Linked DNA regions of Homo sapiens: region 2 is linked to region 1. Evidence: promoter capture Hi-C in 16 types of primary human blood cells and fetal thymus (Javierre and others, 2016). All regions are on one chromosome and are shown on one strand. The core of a region is centred on a gene start or on the middle of the fragment in contact, and the rest is flanking DNA. Distances in the headings are between cores, read along the strand shown.

What was found. Contacts are between HindIII fragments. The CHiCAGO score rates a contact against its expected background, and 5 or more counts as called.
Region 2: a fragment that was not itself captured here is called in contact with the fragment with the promoter of IL3 in region 1 in 1 of 17 cell types (megakaryocytes); the score reaches 5.2 in megakaryocytes.

What each region holds. Positions count from the first base shown.
Region 1 is chr5:132,059,007-132,062,454 of GRCh38, reverse strand. IL3 (interleukin 3) reads right to left here and starts at 1,800. Exons shown (of 5, transcript NM_000588.4): 1 at 1,587-1,800; 2 at 1,447-1,488; 3 at 54-143. The coding sequence starts at 1,748. It overlaps LOC105379174 (a long non-coding RNA gene), which reads left to right. Exons shown (of 5, transcript XR_001742531.2): 2 at 847-984. The HindIII fragment of the contact is 14,005 bases long and covers 1-3,448 here.
Region 2 is chr5:131,812,644-131,816,091 of GRCh38, reverse strand. All of the region lies in intron 12 of MEIKIN (meiotic kinetochore factor), which reads left to right. Among named protein-coding and RNA genes, the nearest start is that of FNIP1, 17 kb to the right of the region's middle. The HindIII fragment of the contact is 7,329 bases long and covers 1-3,448 here.

The DNA.
Region 1 (3,448 bases), core at 551-3,050:
GAGGCAGGGCAGGGCCAACACAGGGATCCCAAACCCTCAACAGCTTCACATACTTTAAGAATGCTCTCAATTGCTGATGCGTTCTGTAAACTCTTGACAGCCCTGTTGAATGCCTCCAGGTTTGGCCTTCGAAGGTTATTTTCCTAACGGGGCAGAGAATACACTTAAGGGGGAAAGGTTACAGAGTATCCCTCCCACAAGCAGGTGGAAGTCACCCCCACAGTTTCCCAAGCCCACTGTTGGGGACATCCTCGGGTTCCCTCCTAGTCCCGTTCTTGCCTCAGGTGGGTCCCTGCCCAAGGGCACAGGCCTAGAAGTGAGTGGCAGGCAGGACCTGGTTTCCTCAAGCCCCCAGTCTCTGGCTCCATTTGAGCTACATAAAGGGCCTAGGTGGGCTGGGCGCAGTGGCTCAAGCCTGTAATCCCAGCACTTTGGGAGGCCGAGGCAGGCAGATAACCTGAGGTCGAGTTCAAGACCAGCCTGACCAATATGGTGAAACCCCGTCTCTACTAAAAATACAAAAATGGGAGTGGTGGTGCATGCCTGTAATCCTAGCTACTTGGGAGGCTGAGACAGGAGAATTGCTTGAACTCAGGAGGCAGAGGTAGCAGTGAGCTGAGATCGTGCCACTGCACTCCAGCCTGGGCAACAGAGTGAGACTCTTGTCTCAAAAAAAAAAAAAAAAATGGGTGGGGAGGGGGTACCTAGGTGGATCTTTCTGCACTTGGGGGAAAAAATATCTCCAAAAAGAAGCTCTACAAAAGACAGGGGGTTTTCCAAGGGAAGTATTTGTAGCTCAGAGGCTGATAACAGTGTTCATGCCCTGACTGAATTAAAGTCTCCTAGAAATCAAGAAGAAAATCACAGAGACCCCAGCATGGAAATGGGTGCAGCATGTGAGCTGTGAGTGCCCCAAACACAGATGGCCCAGGAACTCAGCAAAGGCTTCCACTTCTTGTTTGACCCAAGAAATGTCATGCAAAGGTGAGACAGAACAACTGCAACCAACTGGAACCATGAAAAATAACTGTAAATGATAATGCCACAGCCAATGAGGGTGGAAAACACAAACTCAATTTTTTAAGGGAAAAAGAAGCTGGCACATCTGAGGGGGAAATTTCTGTCTGTCAGTCCAGAGTCTGCCCTACCAAACACTGACCTTAAGGCCCTTGGTATTCCTCACCTAGAACTGCCTTTTCATTTTCTAATTTAAAAGTCATTTTCATTATTATAGCCATGGCTGTGGCCATGTATTGAACTCTTAAGTGCCAGATGCTGGGCCAGAACATGCACATTGTGCCATTTGATTGTCATAACAATCCCACTGAGATAGGTGCTATTAACCCTATTTTACAGATGAAGAAAGCAAGGCTAGGTAAGATGGAATGACATGGCTGAAGTCACCCAGGCAGGAAGTGGATCGGGATCCACGGGCTGAGCTCTTACCATCAGAATGTCTTGGTCTTCCCCATTGAGGTTGTTGAAGTCCTGTGGGGGTGAAGGGAGAGAAAGGCCCATGAGGCCTTTTGGCCTTAGGCAGCCACCACCCCTCACTGCTGCAGGCCAGTCTTATCCAAGCTACTCACCAGCAAAGGCAAAGGTGGCTGCTTTAAGTGTGTTATAATTTCATCGATCATGTTAGAGCAGTTAACCCAGCTTGTCTTCAAGGGCGTTGTCTGGGTCATGGGAGCTTGGAGTCCGGGGCGGACCAGGAGTTGGAGCAGGAGCAGGACGGGCAGGCGGCTCATGTTTGGATCGGCAGGAGGCACTCTGTCTTGTTCTGGTCCTTCGTGGGGCTCTGAAGAGTTGGCAACAGCCTCCCGCCTTATATGTGCAGCAGCAAGGTGCCCACAACCCCGGGCAAGGCGGGGGGAGGTGGTGGTGTGGGGCAGGCGTCGGAAGGATCTTTATCTGACATGGAACCTCCATAGAAAACCACAGACGTAATTATTCATCCATGACTTTCTAGTACTCAAGATCAGTGAAACAAGAAAAAAGATTACTTAAACGGTATCACTTCATCTTGTCAAGGAGGATGAGAGATGGGAAGCATGGCAGCAGGTGAGAGGACCCCTGTGGCAGGAAGGGGAAGCCTGACTCAGCTCACTGAGGCCTCCTGCCCAGTGGGATCTCATCTGCCATCACCTGGACTACCCTGGCCCTCTGCTGCCCGCCCTGCTTGGTCCTGGTGGGTGGCCAGGAGGCCACTGGAACAGATGAGAGTTTGTCTGGTAGCCGGTCACGCTGCTAAACATCCACGTTCAGCCTCAGGCTCTGAGAAGCACATCTCTTGGTGCCGCTTCCCAATACAGAATTACTGGTGTTCCAGTCCCCAGTGGTTTGTCCCATGGGCTTCGGGCAGCTTCTCCTTGACACTTTGTTTCTGGTGGATGGCCGAGGGCGCTCAGGCCCCAGGTGGCCATTCTCTTACTGGTCTGCTAGCAGTGGCATGGCTGTTCCCTGCGTGTGGGACTCAGCCTCTGCAGGAGGCCCGGCTGCAGCCCCTGGCAGTCCCTCTGGTAGCACCGAGAGCTGAGCTCAGGTACCTGAGGACACTGTCACTGGGAGCTGGGGGAGGGGCTGGCCTGGGAGGTTTAGGAGGCAGAATTGGCATGGTCTGAGGGGTGAGGTCAAGGGAGGAGAAAGGAGAGCAACTCCCTGGTTTCAGACTGGGCCTCAGGCTGCTGGGGCAGGGATTGGCAGGAGACAGTTGTATTGAGAGGTCTTGATCCCCGTCTGTGCTGAGCATGGATTTGCCAGGTGCAGGCCCAGTAGGCAAGGTTTGCAGAGAGGGGATGTGAGTGGGGACAGACCATGGGGAAATCCACAAGGGACCTGAGAAACTGCAGCCAGATAGGAAGCAGGAAACCCAGAAGGGCGGGGGTGGTTATCCCAGAGGGCAGCCCCTGAGAGAAGAGGGGTCCTCCTGATACGGGCCTGTCTTGGGGCCTGCCTGACCCACCCCATGGGGTAGGGGCTTTTGGTAAAGGGATGAGTGTGACAGGGGCATGTGGAAGACTTCTTCAAGATGACTGGCCCCGGGTGGGAGGGAGAGGAGAGCAGTAAGGAAAGGCCAGGGTCTGGGTCATGGTGCGGTGTGTTGTGATCAGTGTGGGGGATGCGGGATAGGAGGTTATGCTGAGGCAGCGGAATTTGGGTGCTTTGGGCTTCTGAGCATAAGCAGATCAGGTGAAGACAAGGACCAGGATGTGGCTGTGGGGAGGCAGGTGAAGAGGCTGTGACTCAAGGCCATGCTGTGAGGATGATTTCTGTAGCTGATATGCCCTCCTGGCTCAGCCCCAGGCTGGGCCCTGGACCAGGAAGAGCCCTAGGTTCTGGACCCGGAGTGGAGTCTGACAGGCACAACTCAACACACAGAGGGGAGCCTTAGCACCAGCTTGCGTACTCCGTAGGCACAATTCATTCAACAGACGTCTACAAAGCACTT
Region 2 (3,448 bases), core at 484-2,983, 250 kb after region 1:
AAGAGGATACAAAGTTTCGGGCAATGTTCACCCTTCTTCTTGCTATCCTGTAACTTAAAAACTGTGATATAAAGTTAACTATTATTAATACATTGTACATCATATGATAAAGGGATAAGAGAGAGAAGAAAACAAAGATACTTGCCTAACTAATCAGGTGATCGTAACAGGTATTTATAACCACCTTCTTCTATTACCCATGCCATATTCCTTCTGCCTTCAGCAGGCACTTCAGATGGTCATGGTTCTTTACCTGGTGGGTGACACAAACTTTATTTCTGATGGGTCTGGGCCATTAGCAGTCCTGCATGGATTGGGTTGTTGTAGTTTTCCATTAACGTTAATCACAGGGTATGATAAAATTAACAGATACCCTAAGAGATCTCCTGTGTTCCAGACATATTCTTCCTTACCACCATTGTGGAGTAGTAGTTCAGATTCTCCTTGGTAGTCCGGATCAGTCGCCCCAGTCAACACCGTAAGTCGCTTCTTAGCCTATTGACTCCAAAGTGACTGGGGGCAGTCTTAACTTCCAGTTTAATAGAATTAGTCTCCTGTGGAGGAATTTCTCCCTTTGGAACTAAGACCTCTAAGCCAGTGGGGCATAAAATTATGAGAACAGGAAGAATAAATTTTGCTAGTGGGTCACCAGGGTTAATAATGCATGGTGCCACTTTTGTTTCTACCCCTTGATTCCTGGCTATGGAGGGAAAAAAAGTACCATTTATTGGATGCTGATTCAGAGCATATATATAGCCCTCTGGAGAACTCTGCCCTCCCTGCAAGTTATTGCCACCTAGCTGGTGCTATAACTGAATCTTCAAAAGGCCATCCCATCATCCTATTAGGCCAGCTTCTTTAGCATGATAAGGAACATAGACCAGTGAATTCCAGGAGCAATGACTCATACTGAAATTCTTTTGCTGTGACGTGAGTTCCTTGATCAGAAGCAATGTTGTATGGAATATGACAATGGGTAAAGCATTCCATGAGACCATGGATGACAATTTTGGCAGAATTTTGTATGAGGAAGGCAAATCTGTATCGAGGGTCTGTTCTAGTAAGAACAAAATGCTACCCCTTCCATGATGGAAGTAGTTCAATGTAATCAACTACAAAGCTGACTGAGCACCCAGAGGAATAGTGCCATACTTGGAGTCAGTGTTGTTGTCTGCTGCTGACTGGTTGGGCCCTCAGCAGTGGCATCCAGGTTGGCCTTGGATAGTGGAAATCCATATTGCTGAGCCTATGTATGACCTCCATTCTTGCCACTGTGGCCACTTTGTTCATGAGCCATGAACAAAGAGGATACCAGTTAGCCTCTTTCCCCAGCCCTGTTCTGACAGAGGTGGCTGGAATAGAGACTGACTGGTTTCCACAGACTTGATTATCCTATATTCACTTCATTATTAAAATCCTCCTCTGCTAAGATCACCTTTGGTGAGAATTTTATGGCATACATCCTTCTTTTCTTTTCTTCTTTTCTTTTTTTTCCCATTGAGAGAGGTCTGTCCTGGGTGGGTGTGATGGCTCATGCCTGTAATCCCACCGCTTTGGGAGGTTGAGGCGAGTGGATCGCTTGAGCCCAAGAGTTTGAGACCAGCCTGGGCAACATTGTGAAACCATCTCTTCAAAAAAATACAGAAATTAGCCAGGTGTGGTGGTGCACTCCTGTAGTTCCAGCTACTTGGGAGGCTGAGGTGGGAGGATCACCTGAGCCCGAGGAGGTGGAAGCTGCAGTAAGCTGTAATCACGCCACTGCACTGCAGCCTGAGCAATAGAGTGAGATCCTGTCTCAAAAAAAAAAAAAAAAGATCTGTCCAATGCCTCCTTTCAAATTTTTCAGTCCACTTGTGATGGATTACTGAGTGTCAACTTGATTGAATTAAAGGATGCAAAGTATTGTTCCTGTGTGTGTCTGTGAGGGTATTGCCAAAGGAGATTAACATTTGAGTCAGTGGACTGGGAGAGGCAGACTCACCCTCAATTTGGTGGGCATCATCTATCTAATCAGCTACCAGCATGCCAGAATAAAAGCAAGCAGAAGAATGTGAAAAGATTAGACTGGTTTAGCCTCCCAACCTACATCTTTCTCTGATGCTGGATGCTTCCTGCCCTCTAACATCGAACTCCAAGTTTTTCAGCTTTGGGACTCGGACTGGCTTCCTTGCTCCTGAGCTTGCAGATGGCCTATTGTGGGACTCTGCGATCATGTGAGTTAATACTCCTTAATAAACTCCCTTTTATGTATATATATTGTATTAGTTCTGTCCTTCAGAGAACCCTGACTAATACAATGTTCTTTCCAAGTCCCTGACCATACAGCCAAATCATTGGCTACCACTCTAGAATACAGTTAAAGATCGGCTGGGCACGGTGGCTCAAGCCTGTAATCCCAGTACTTCGGGAGGCTGAGGCGGGCGGATCATGAGATCAGGAGATCGAGACCGTCCTGGCTAACACAGTGAAACCCCGTCTCTACTAAAAATACAAAAAAATTAGCCGGGCATGGTGGCGGGTGCCTGTAGTCCCAGCTACTCAGGAGGCTGAGGCAGGAGAATGGCGTGAACCCGGGAGGCGGAGCTTTCAGTGAGCCAAGATCATGCCACTGCACTCCAGCCTGGGTGACAAAGCAAGACTCTGTCTCAAAAAAAAAAAAAAAGAATATAGTTAAATATCTGGTTATTTCTCCTTTCAACAAAGCACACAACCGGGTGCACTCCTCTCAGTTCTGCCCACTGGGAGGACTTATCTTCACCAATTTCCTTTAGGGATGTCCCAGAAAGAAATTGTAGGTGCTCTAACTGTCGACTTTAAGGCAGTACCTGCATATCATAGAGAACCATTTGTAAATCAAATATGAGTTTTCTCTTCCTCAGTCAACTGATTGTAGAGAACTCCTCATGTCATCTTCAGAGCAGGCAGTGAGAAAAAAGGTAATGTAGCCAGGGTGGGGGCCATGGACATTTGGGTCACTTCCTCATGTTACTTACTTATGACTTCAGGGCCTGCTCAAGCTCAATTTTACATAAACCACTTCCATTTGATAATGGAGTGCTGCCATTAACACCAAATTTATGACTTGGTAGGTCAGACAGCACATAGTTCATGATAGGCAGTGTGGGTCACATGGTAACTTGATGGCCTATGATTAAGTGCTTAGTTGCTACTAAAATTTGGCAATAAGCCAAAAGCTGTTTCTCAAAAGAGTAGTTTTCCACTGAGGATGGAAGGACTTCACTCCAAAATCCTAAAGGTTCACCCTGGGAGTCACCTGCAGGGACCTGCCAAAGGCTCCAAGCAGCGTTTCTATCTGCCACTAACACTACAAGCACCGTTGGATCTGCTGGATCATTTGGCACAATTTTCAGAGCAGCTCCACAGCAACCTCGACCTATTGCAGATGATTCTCTTGTTCTGGGCCTCCCTTCAAATCTAGCAGCTTTTT